4 separate regions of the Homo sapiens genome follow, and all the other regions are linked to region 3. Evidence: promoter capture Hi-C in 16 types of primary human blood cells and fetal thymus (Javierre and others, 2016). All regions are on one chromosome and are shown on one strand. The core of a region is centred on a gene start or on the middle of the fragment in contact, and the rest is flanking DNA. Distances in the headings are between cores, read along the strand shown. Region 1 has its middle 310 kb from the start of PEX2. Region 2 has its middle 390 kb from the start of PEX2. Region 3 holds the start of PEX2 (peroxisomal biogenesis factor 2). Region 4 has its middle 340 kb from the start of PEX2.

Region 1 (3,306 bases), core at 400-2,899, 310 kb before region 3:
AGAAGCCAAGGAACTACCAGAAGCCAGGAGAGATCCTGCCATAGTTACCTCCAGGGGGAGTGTGAACTGGCTGACACTGGCCTCTAAAACTGTACATAATACATTTCTATTGTCCTAAGCCACCTAGTGTGTGGTACTTGGTTATGGCAACTCTAGCAAACTAATACAGTCATAATTTCTTTATTTCCTGAACTAGAACACAGTGCAAACAAGAAAGTAGTTATTCCTTTAAGGCAGTGGAATTCTGATGAAATGTTAACCTCTCAAATGCTGGTATTTCAAACTCAAACCTTAAAACCTTAAACCTTAAAACTCAAACCTTAAAACTTAAACTCATTTTATTCATAGATTATAATATGTGAATGTAAATTGAAAACATTAGGTATCCCGAGCCTTCTAGGTAGTCTGTTATTAAACACTGAATCAACTGTATAGCTGAATGACCCACTGCAAATTTTTGGCTTTCAGTGGATGTTGTGGTAAATGGATTCTAAATTATCATTCCAAATTTTTAGAAACAAAAAAAAAGTATATTAAAAAATTCCAAACTGATGGCACTGCAAATGATTTAAAATTGACTTTTAAATAACTTATTTTTCTAACTTTTAATGAGTATTTTTTTATCTGTCTTATTTAATCAGTGCAAAACTTCTTCCATGTCTGGGCTAGTAAAGTTTGTGTACTAAGATTTTTGTGGAATGGAAGTGAGGCTTGCTCTGTGTTGCTGCCCCATCATTAAGTCATCTGGAGTGTGTTAAGACAAATGTATTATAATTTGTATCATTAGTACTGTTTAGTTATTATTTCTTTAGGCAACAAAAGAGCAGAAATAGTTACTTTTTATGGCTCAAATGCCAAATTATTTAATCTTTTAATGTTATTCGCAAAATGTGTAGCCTCGAATGGAAATTTTCACTAACTTTGTTAATGCAGGGAATTTTAACCACTTTTACTCATATACCAAACCCTACACAAAATAAGATGATGAATTAGGAAGGAAATCCTGTTAAGAGAATTACTATAAACATGAGGAAACTATTAGACCAGAGTTTTCAGTAGTCTAAAATTCTGAGATTTGATTTTTAAATGATGAAACGTCCAATAAGCCAAATGACTCTGCATAAACATGTACATGGAATAAATTATTCCAAATGAAAGCATGGATGTTATTTGTTCAGCTGTTTTAGTGGTTGGAACGTTAGGAACAAAAGCTATTATTGTTCGATGTATTTTTTCACAGGAAATAGACAGTGGCAAACATACAGTAGTTCAACACATGAGATCAGAGACATGGTTTTTATAGTAAACCAAGAACAGATGTTGGAACGATTCAAGACCTTTACAGAAATTATTAGTTATGTTTGCCTTTGAAAGCAAAGAAAGTTTACAGAGAGTCACATATCTGATTATATTAAGAAACAGATAGGTTTTCAAATCCAAAAGCTTTAATTCATTCAAGCTAAAAGTTTCTGCTGCATAAATTCTGAATGTGCTACTCAACACTATTGCAAATAATTACCATAGGTTCCATGTTACCCTACTGCTTTCAAAAGCATGCTTATTTTTGAAAGATATAAAAACTACTGATTCCTCATATGCAATCCAAGTAGCCCTATTCAGCAAAAAATCACATAGAAATAGGACTTACGCCTCAGACAAAAATCACGATTTAGTTAGAATCACTGAAATCAATTGATTCACAGACATTAAGAAAATGAAATTCTGCAGGTAACTGGAAGACGTATTTTTTAAGGTTGAACTAAAAGCCAACAAGTCACCTTTTTCCTATTTATGAAAGGCCTGTATGAAATATTTTGATGGCATCAGGATCTCTAAGTTATTGACTCTAAGCTTTTCATTGGTCCTCCCCTGCTTCAGGATCTCAGTGTCGTTTTACTCAGTTTATATTCCATGGAGCATCATTATAATCCCTCCTTAGGAGGCATTATCAGTTTTTTTATTTTCAAATTTATTTATTTATTTTTATTTTAAATAGATAATATTGTTTGTGTTTATTGTGATGTTTTGAGGTATATACACATTGCAGAATAGTTAAACTGAGCTAATTAAAATATGCATGACCTCACATAGTTATCACTTTTGCAGTGAGAACAGTTAACATCCACTTAGAATTTTTCAATAATACAATATATCCTCGTTAACTATAGTCACCATGCTGTACAATACATATTGTGAATTTAATCCTCCTGTCTGATTGTAATTTTGTATCTTTTGACCAACATCTCCCCAACATCCCCAGCCTCTGGTAACCACCATTCCACTCTGCTTTTATGAGACTGACTTCTTAAATTTCCACATCAACCAGATCATGCAGTATTTGTCTTTCTGTGGCTGACTTTTTTCACTTACTGTAATGTTCTCAGTTTCTGTCCTCCTCCCTGCCCACTTCTTGGGCAAAGTCACACCTAGATTAACACCTGGTCAAATCTAATTCAGTTCCTACTTGAACATACTCCTATATCTCTAATTGTGATAGGAGAAAAAGTCCAACTGTGCTGATTAACGTTATTTTAAGTGCATGACCTCCAATTTCAGATGGAAACTTGGTACTATGTAGCCGTCATTTTCTTAACTGGTTCATTCTCTCAAGGGCTATTTCATATTGTCTTCTCTCTAGTCAGACTTCCAGAGACCCTACCCCATCAACACACAGACACTTACACTTTTAGTTGATGACCTTGCTTTAAGCTTCACTGAGAAAATGAAACCAATCAGTAGAGGCTTTACAAAAACCTCCACCACCAACTATACCCACCAACCTGCATCTCTACCTACATATGCTACCTTCCTTCCTATCATAAGAAGGTACATTGTCTTTCCTCTTAGATAAAGCTAACCTCTCAACTTCTGCCCTGTATACTATCTCCTCTACTTCACACACTTTTGAGTTTTGCTCTTTGCATGTTTCTCCCTTCTGTATAAATGTCTTGGGTGGTTCCCATCATCATATTCGTACTGAAATCTCTCCCATCTTAAAAACAAATTAATTAACTAATTAAAATTTAGAAACCCACCTCCCTTCACCTTATATTATAGTCCAGCTGCTTCTCCAATTTACAGCAATATTCCCATTTACATCAACACTCACAAGTACTGTCTACTTTATGATGAAGAAAATATACCTTGGTAAAGTTTTTAAACAATAAAACAATTGCCTAAACTTGCTGTCTACACATTGATTTCATCCCACTGAATTCTACCTCTCTGCTGAACTCCTCTTGTTAGTCACCAAGATCTCCATATAGCTAAATCCAATGGGCACTTTTCAGCAATTTTAAAATTGTG
Region 2 (3,082 bases), core at 375-2,874, 390 kb before region 3:
CTTTGACTGCCAAAGAGCTGGGATTGCAGGCATGAACCACCATGCTGGGCCAAGAAAGTACTGCTTTACAAAATAATATGAGTTTGAAAAGTCCAAATTAGTAGAATTCACCATTCACATCTTATGTATATATATTTAAAGGAATAGAAATTGGAAAACTTGGGGACAAAGATTGTAAACTTGAACAGATTTCAACTATTGGATCATGTTATTTTTTAAGAAGGCAAATCACTTTTTTGTTTGCATGAACAATAAAAATTATATACTTTTAAAAGTAGATATATATATATATACACACATGCATACATATATATATATACTTTGCAGTAAACCACATAGTTGGAACATATGTATCATCATCGTCCTCTCTGTGAACTCCTACCAAGATATGAGCTTTATGTAGACAAGGACATTGCCCTATTTATCCATCTGTGTGTTACTAGCATCTTGTTCAGAGTCCTATAGGTAGCACTTTCTATACAGTAAAGCTTTAGTGAACTGCATTGAGTAGATGTTGCTAATTTCACCTGTCAGATATGTGTCATTTTCCTTACTAGGAAAAATGTGCCATTTGCTTTGCCTCTGAAATACAAAGTAAATAAGGAAGGATTTACACTTACAGTTTTGGCAGATTTATCTTCGAGCCATCTACAGGCATAATTGGATAAATACTACAATTTTATTTAGTTTTAATTTATATCTAAACGAAACTTGATAGCATTTCTATAACCAACACTTACAGTATATATTGAATTTAGAGACAAACAACAAGAGAGATGAAGTCAAAAAATTTATGGTAAAATAGATATTCCTCAATAATTCAGAAAAAGATGTGCAAAGTAATGTTTCCAGCTCCCTTTCCTTTTCAACAGCTATGTGATTTTTGAATAGATATGTTTCCCCATTTTCTCACAATCTCAAGGGTGTAGCTGATCTTTCTGACTACAAAGTTTCTTAGCAGCTGTAAAGACCCTTTCAGGCTGTGTTATGTGATGTTCTAGATGAACAAGTTCCACTTTGTGGTTATGTTTGGTAGCTATTACATCCAAATGCAATGACTGCAAGGTGTCTTCTAGCTTTTTCAATTGCAAGAACAGCTTTCTCCCTCATGTATGCATCAGATATTAGCTGTTTTGGCTTTTTTCTTCTTCTGTGCTCTCTTCACATTCTTATAATTTTATCAGTTTGTACTGCATTTAAGGTCATGGCTAAAATAAGAAATTAATGTGCATGATACCAGATATATTCCATTCATTACATTATCTAAACATTATAGACCCACTTAGAATAAATAAACAAGCATGTCTTTCTCGTAGTACGCTTAATGTAAATGTGGAAACTGAGGGATATCAAAGTGAAACCAATTATCTCAGCCTGGGGTAATTTTACATATGCTGTTTTTACATCTTAGAAAATCAAGGAACTATCATATTCTTGCAACAAACCTAAAAGGAGGAGGACTTCCACACACTTGTTTCATATAACCAAGGCATTTCTTTCTTTCTTTCTTTCTTTTTTCTTTTGAGACAGGATCTCTCTCTGTTACCGAGGCTGGAAGTACAGCAGCGTGATCACAGCTCGCTACAACCTTGCCCTCCTGGGATCAAGTAATCCTACCAGCTTAGCCTCCTGAGTGGCTGGGACTACAGATGCATGCCACTTCCCTCGCTAAGTTTTTAATTTTTTGTAGAAATGGAGTCTCACTACATTGCCCAGGTTGACCTCAAACTCCTGGGCTCCAGTGATCCTCCTGCCTCAGCCTCCCAGACTGCTGGGATTATAGGTATGAGCCACCATGCCCAGCCTAAGCAAGAAATTTCTTCAGGTAAGAATTACTCCAGTGTGCTTAAGTAATTTAATTTCTTATTTTTATAATAAACTACCTGCTAGTTAATTAAATTAAAAAATCCTATTGCATTATACAAAATCACTTAATATGAATGATTTTATTTTTACCCCTAATGTAAGCTAACATTACTATCTCATTTTATGAACAAACTAAACTTTCAATCCTTCACTGTTTCTACTATCTCATGCTATTGCTTTTTAGCATTGTTATGGAAAGATTTGAGTTTTATGGTACACATTACTAGGTTAATAAACTAACATTTAAATTAAAAGTTTGAATTTATATTACAATAATCATAATATATATGATGACAGTGGTAATATTATACTCAATGTGAATCACACATTAGAACAAACTATGTCACTTAGTCCATTTTCTGTTGCTAAGAAAATGGACTAAGGTTCAACATCACAAATCAAAAAATCTAAAATTCAAAAGTTTTTGTGTGCAAATATGAAGCTCAAAGGAATAATTCCCGGAGCATTTTGGATTGCAGATTTTCAGATTTGGGCTGCTCAACTAGTAAGTATAATACAAAATTCTTAAATCAAAAAAAAATTCAATCATTTCAGACAAGGAATATTCAACCTGTATCATATACTGGATAATTTATAAATAAAAGAAATTTACGTAGCTCACAGTTCTGGAGGCTCGGAAGCCCAAGAGAATGGCACCAGCATCTGATGAGGGGCTTCTGTCAGCATCATAACATGGCAAAGGACATCACATGTCAAGAGGGCAAGAGCATGCGTGTCATTTCAGGTCTTTCTTCCTTATCTTACAAAGTCACTAATCCCCTCCCAAAGGCCCCACCTCCAAGCAACATATGAATTCGTGGACTGTTTCCAACACAAGAAATTTGGGGAACACTTTCAAACATATATCTAAATGAAACTATCTCTTAAGCTTTAGCATCGTGATTTGAACTCTTTATTGTTCTCAAGTCCACTTATTTTGAGTGAAAATCACAATATTTAGCAATGTGAAATGAGTCTCTCTCTCTCTCTCTCTCTCTTTTCTCTTTCCCTTTCTCTTTCTCTTTCTTGGTGTCGTATTTTTTCTGTTCCATCCAGAGAAGCCAATTACGCACAGTGAAGGATTTCCTCAGTACCAGAAATGCAATTATTATCAAATACTAGATAACATCATTAGTTACTAATGATTAATTAGACCATATTCTGTTGGAGTTGTTATAGAGTCGAGATAAGTAGAAGTGGAAATGTCCTCAATAGC
Region 3 (3,294 bases), core at 587-3,086:
AAAATCTAGAACTTATTTTAAACAATTTCAACAGAATTTTAACTGTTGCATGTTTCCCCGCATTCTTAATGAGATTCATTAAATATGATTCAAGTTTCTTGATATCTTTATTATTTTCATTCGCTACTGTGTGATGTTCACATGACATACATAAGGCTCTATGAACCAGAATTTGCTTTCTGAAAATGTCCTCTATGTCAATCAAGTCTTTGTGTGTATTTTCCCCCGTCCCTCTCAAAAATTAAGTGAAGCACAGCACATCTGTAGGCTACCTGAGAGGTGCAGCGTGGTTGGTTTTCTTCACAGTTGCTAAACGAAAGGCCTACTCTTCTTCAGTGAGATTTTTTTACTCTCTAGAACAGCAGTATCCATAGAAATATAATGGAAGCCACGTAATTTAAAATTTTCCAAAACATTCTCATTTTGACATGTAAGCAATATAAAATTAATGAAATACTTTACATTCTTTTTCTTTTCAGACCACGCTTTAGAAATCTGGTGCATGTTCTACACTTAGAGCAGACCTCAGTTCAGACTAGCCACTTTTCAGGTGGCCAGTGACTACTACACTGGACAGTTGCAGCTCTAGAAAATCCACTCCCAAACCCCTAAGTGAACTACATACTCTATCAATTTGTAGCTTCTACTCTATCTCATTTGTACCATTGTTTCACAATTTGGATAGCATTAGAGTTAATAAATTTTATTTTAGCAACTCTGCTCCATGGGTAGTTTCTGAAATAAAAATACAAGCAAAAAAAAAAAAACTTTCCTAATAACACTGGTTCTACAGTATAAGCTCTCCCTCGAATGTCTAATAGAGCTTTCGTAGAAGTGAGTGTTCCTTGTAGGAACGGTGAGTCGAGACTGGAGGTAAGAACTAAGACGTTCTTAAACCCTACTACGTGCTGGAATCCTGAAGTGCCTGCCATCATTCAAACTTAAGCACTAACTCTCTAGAGAGACACTGCCATTCATACCACAGAACGAGAAGGCAGTGGCGATCCTCAACGGCTACATGTCACTGCCTGGTGAGCACTCTTCCCTCAGACCCCATTCCCAGAAGCTCTGCCTCGATTCCCCAGGGGTAGGCGAGCTGGCTGCCCGAATTCCTAAGCGTTACCGGGGAGATGTGAGGGCCTCCGGGGGCGGGAAACCTCAGGCCAGGCGCGCGCTGGCCCGCTCTACGGGGTCTCTCGGGAGCGCTTTGCAGGGCGGATGACTGACGGGCCAGCTACCTGCCTTCCTGAGCCTGCAGAGATAAACAGCCTATCCTCCCTGTGCACACAGGCCCCGAGGGCGGGCAGGTCTCCAAGCGCAGCACAACTGCCCCAGGCCCGACGCAGCCACCTGCCCGAGGGCTCCCTCCCCACCAGGCCATCCCTCAGCCGGTCCTCCTCCGACAGCGAACAAGGAACCCCGGAGGCGCGGAGGCGTCTCGCCGCCACCCGGCGGCGCCTGCCAGAGGCCCTTCGCGATGTCCGCAAGCAGAGAAAGCCCTGCCCTCCCAAGCCCCGGCTTCCCCTAGGCCCCTCGACACTTGTAGTGTCCTCACTTGCGGCCCCTGACCCGGGGCTGACCGGTTCGTGACTCTCCTGCCAATCAGAGACAGAGTTCTTCCGGCCAACCGGCCAATCACCGCGCGCGGGTGTCCGCTTCGGCTTTTCGGCCCTTCGGCTCTTCGGCTTGTCGGCGTTCGCGGTTGTTTGGCCATCCAGTGCCTTCAGCAGCGCCGCTAAAGCGCAGTTCTCGTTGGTGTAACTTTTTCTTTTTTTTTTCAGCCACTTCCGGCTCCTGCGTCGCTCCGGAAGCCTGCGAGTTCCGGAAGCCTTGGTAATCCAGATTCGGCTAGGAAAAGACAAGCTTTCCAGAGAATGTTTCAGAGAAAGTTACGTGGAGCGTGGGCGTTTCGCAGACTCCTAAGGTCAGTGTCTGCCCTAGAGAGCCGGAGTGCAAACCCGAGGTCTTGTTTTCAGCTGGGAGGTCGTGGAGTTTCACGACCTTGTAATTGTCGCCGTTTGCTTTTTTTTCCCTGTTTATTGGCTTCCTGTCTCCCTGGAAAAGGCAAATCAAAGCTGCTGAATTTTGGGAAAGGCAGTGAAGCAAACCTAAACTCCTAAAGATGTTTTTAGGATCGCGGCATTAAAAATAAACACACACACAGCTGCAGTTGAGCCCCTCTGCATTCCACGTAGTAACTTAAGAGACGAACTTCGAAATCTTTTTCTCTCATTTGGCGGTCGTGAAGATATTTACCTCTTATAAACGGCTTTATAAAGAATTGAGGATCCAAACTTTACTTAATATCTGAAAGTTCATGTAAAGTGTTATATGTAGTACAAAAAATTTGAGTGCTTAGTTTTCTAACACTGTTGAAAGCGCACGTAAATGCAGTTTGGTTTTCTTATGGAGGAAGAGATAATGAAAAGTTTCTGATAAAATTGCTTGCGATAAATTAGTTATATTTCACGTTGACTTTTGATAAGAAATCTGAATGTGAGAATTGTTAACATTTTTTCCTGGGTTCTTAAATTAAAAATCGTTGTTTGTTTATTTATTGAGGTACCATTTTCCAAATTTCCCACATTTAGTGAAAGGGCTTTTGGCAAAATGAGCAAGCTGTTGAACGTTCAAGTCTAACACATTCTGTTAAACTTCCGTGATGCCCCTCGGAAATATTTTATCTTGACGTTTCGGACAATTAAATGATACTTGGGCGCTCACAACACCGCAGCTTGTAGTCTAAACACCTTCCCCTAAAGTGTTACCTTTACTTAATCCTGAACAGAATGAACTTGGGGTGGCTCTTTTAACTTATCTGATCTCACCTATATTATCAATTACTTGTTTCCAGAAAGATTACAGTTGAGTGATCTTGAGCCAGAAAGAGATTTGAAAGAATTATTTACAGAGTCAAAAAAAAAAACCCTTCATATTTTTTTCTTAAAAAAAAAAATAGAAGTAACAGGACATAGAGCGAATACTAGACTAGTAGACTGAAGAGTATTAGACTAAATCAAGACAGTTGGATTCTAGTCCTGACTCTAGTTGCCTTTGTACAATTTTACCTCTTGGCCGTATTCTCCTTATTTTTAGAAACTAGTGTTAGTACTCAAGCTGGGGTTTTAAAACTGTTCCATAGGAGAACTTGTGTAGAAATTTTCTGGAGCCGTGCAGGGAGAGACAAAGCAAGCCCACCCTCAGGTTTATTTTAACAAGAGCAGCCATTTAGGTGTTCCGCTTGAATAACAAGGTTCTTGTTAAGAAGATTAAATTTATGTCTTAAACGAGATG
Region 4 (3,039 bases), core at 117-2,616, 340 kb before region 3:
CCTACTTTGTGCCACACACTATTTAAGGTGTGTGATTACTTTGGGAAGTAATATAAAGTATCTGCCCTGTGTGAGGAAATGTAATGTCGTAGTTACAGACACAGGTTCTGGAGAAAGATTTTTTGGCTCCAAAATCTAAGTTTGCTACTCATAAACCTTATGTTACTTATTTAGCAATTTTAATTTTCAGTTTTCATAGCCACAAAGTGATACTTTCTTCTTCTTGCTATAAAATGGATTAAAAGAAATAATATAGGCAAAATAGCACATTGTTTGACATATACAAGATACTCAATAGTATGTAGAAAAAAATTCTCACTTACTCACCAATGGTGTATTTTAGTCTAACCAGGTCTAACATTTATATTCATTCAAGAATAGACCTAAAACAGGGAAAATGACATCCATAGTTCCATAAAGAATGAATTGCAAATTTCTAAAATAAGTTCCCTCTGTAATTAATAGGCCAAATTTATTTGTATGCAATAATCAGAATATAAGAACTATAGTCATCGGGAACTAAATCAGTGAAGACTTATAATCAAAAATAGTTCACTGAAAATCACTAAAAACTGTTTTCAAGGATGTGAAGAAGAAAAGCCCCAAAAGGCCATATAATCTTCACATATGTTTATCAAACTTTGAACTATATGTTATTTATTTATTTATTCTATGTATATCTATTTATTGCCTACTAGGCAGTAGACACTCTCTCAGACAGTGGACATGCAAAGGTAAACATGTACAAAATAAAGGGGTGTAAAATTTTTGCAATATTAAATCTTGCTATGGGTAATTTTCCACAATAATTTTATTTCCCCAATAATTAACTATATATTTATTCATAAAACATATTTTTAAATGATGGAAAAATTAAATACATTATTCAGAAAGGGTGTTCTAAAATAAATAATTCTGTGTTTATAATTACATATCAGAAACTATATAAATTCATTGTCTTATATGTATTGCGAATATTCTGTGTATACACTTAATCTCTGCAAATGAGTGAAAAAAACTGACTTATACCTTATTATTATTGAGTCTAGCTTTACGTTTATCAGTTGACTCTATATGCTTCATAAGAAATAAAGTAATCAAATTTTAGGTCAGACCTTCATGGATAGTAAACATTGCCATGAATATAAACTAAGGCCATTCAGGGACTACGTCATTGATGATTGGGTTGTCTTGAAAAGGTAATACACTTTGAACTCTGCACTCTGAATACAGTTAACTTATTTAAGAGGTTCCATCCCAAAAGCTTTGTAATATAACAACTTTTAAAGAAATTCAGAAAAATTTGTACAAAGGCACAAAGGAGAAAAAAAGAGGGGTAGATTACACATCCATAGCAATGTATTTGATTGCTTAGACAGGGAAGAAGTAAATAAAACCTAAAACTATAAAATCCCTGGAAGATAACCTAGGAAATACCATTCTGAACACAGGCCTCTGCAAAGCTTTCATGATACAGATGCCAAAAGCAATTGCAGAAATAATAAAAAATTGGCAAATGGGACCTAATAAAACTAAAGACCTTCTGCACAGCAAGAGAAACTACCAACAGAGTAAACAGACAACTTACAGAACAGGAGAAAATATTTACAAACTATGCATCCGACAAAGTTCTAATATCCAGACTCTGTAAAAAGTGCCTGTGGCTTATCCAAGTGCACAGTGCAAGTTGTCAATGGGGTCTGGAGGAAATTTCTGGGGTCTAGAGGATAGTGGTCCTCTTCTCACAACTCTAAGAGGCGGTGCCCCAGTGGGGACTCTGTGTGGGGTCTCCAACCACATATTTCCCCTCCAAACTGCCCTAGTAGAGGTTCTCCATGAGGGCTCTGCCCCTGCAGCAGACTTCCACCTGGACACTCAGGTGTTTCCATATATCCTCTGAAATCTAGTCAGAGGCTCCCAAGCCTCAACTCTTGCCATCTGTGCACCCACAGGCTTAACACCACATGAAATTGCCAAGGCTTATGTTTCGCACCCTCTGGAGCAGCAGCCTGAGACGTATCTGGGGCCCTTTTAGCTACAGCTGCAGCTAGAGCACCTGGTACACAGTGAGCAGTATTCTGAGATTTCATAGGGCAGTGGGTCCTGGGGCCCACTCCATGAAACCATTCTTTCCTCCTATGCCTCTGGGCTTGTGATGGGAGGGGCTGATGTAAATGTCTCTAAAACACCTTCAAGGCATTTTTCCAATTGTCTTGGCTATTAACATCGGCTCCTCTTTACTTATGCAGATTTCTATAGCCAGTTTGAATTCCTCCCCAGAAAATGGGTTTTTCTTTTCTACCACATGGTCAGGCTGCAAATTTTTCTGTCTTTAATGCTCTGCTTCCCTTTTAAATGTAAGTTTCAGTTTCAGATCATCTCTTCTCATTCATATGAACATATGCTGTTAGAAGCAGCCAGGTCATATCTTGAAGGCTTTGCTGCTTGGAAATTTCTTCCATTAGATACCCTAAATTATCTCTCTCAAATTCAAAGTTCCTCAGATCTATAGGACAGAGGCACAATACCTCCAACCTCTTTGCTAACTCACAACAAAGTTGACCTTTGTTCCAGTTCCAGTAAGTTCCTCATTTCCATCTGAGACCACCTCAGCCTGTACTTCAACGTCCATCACTATCAGCATTTAGTTAAATGTTTAGTCGAATGGTCACAACCATTCAACAAGTCTCTAAGAAGTTCCAAATATTCCCTCATCTTCCTGTCTTCTTTTGAGCCCTGCAAACTGTTCCAACCTCTGCCTGTTACCCAGTTCCAAAATTGCTTCCACATTTTGTGGTATTTTTATAGCAATGCTCCACTCCTTGGTACCAATTTTCTGTATTAGCCTGTTCTTGCATTGCTATGAAGAACTACCAGAGACTTGGTAATTTATGAAGTAAAGAGATTTAATTGGCTCACATTTCCACAGGCTGTACAGGAAGCATGGCTGGGGAGGACTCAGGAGTCTTACAGTCATGGCTGGAGGTAAAGGGTAAGGAGGTACATCTTACATGCCTGGAGGAGGAGAAAGAGAGTTTG

What was found. The method cuts DNA at HindIII sites, captures the fragments that hold promoters and counts their contacts. A CHiCAGO score of 5 or more calls a contact.
Region 1: a contact is called between a fragment that was not itself captured here and the fragment with the promoter of PEX2 in region 3, in 1 of 17 cell types (endothelial precursors). The highest score is 6.1, in endothelial precursors.
Region 2: a contact is called between a fragment that was not itself captured here and the fragment with the promoter of PEX2 in region 3, in 1 of 17 cell types (endothelial precursors). The highest score is 7.2, in endothelial precursors.
Region 4: a fragment that was not itself captured here is called in contact with the fragment with the promoter of PEX2 in region 3 in 1 of 17 cell types (fetal thymus); the score reaches 8.8 in fetal thymus.

The regions. Positions count from the first base shown.
Region 1 is chr8:77,307,415-77,310,720 of GRCh38, reverse strand. No RefSeq gene overlaps it. Among named protein-coding and RNA genes, the nearest start is that of PEX2, 310 kb to the right of the region's middle. The HindIII fragment of the contact is 408 bases long and covers 1,446-1,853 here.
Region 2 is chr8:77,390,441-77,393,522 of GRCh38, reverse strand. No RefSeq gene overlaps it. Among named protein-coding and RNA genes, the nearest start is that of PEX2, 390 kb to the right of the region's middle. The HindIII fragment of the contact is 2,267 bases long and covers 491-2,757 here.
Region 3 is chr8:76,998,620-77,001,913 of GRCh38, reverse strand. It overlaps PEX2 (peroxisomal biogenesis factor 2), which reads left to right and starts at 1,836. Exons shown (of 4, transcript NM_000318.3): 1 at 1,836-1,924. RefSeq lists an enhancer at 1,547-1,841. The HindIII fragment of the contact is 1,935 bases long and covers 1-1,865 here.
Region 4 is chr8:77,339,275-77,342,313 of GRCh38, reverse strand. No RefSeq gene overlaps it. Among named protein-coding and RNA genes, the nearest start is that of PEX2, 340 kb to the right of the region's middle. The HindIII fragment of the contact is 199 bases long and covers 1,267-1,465 here.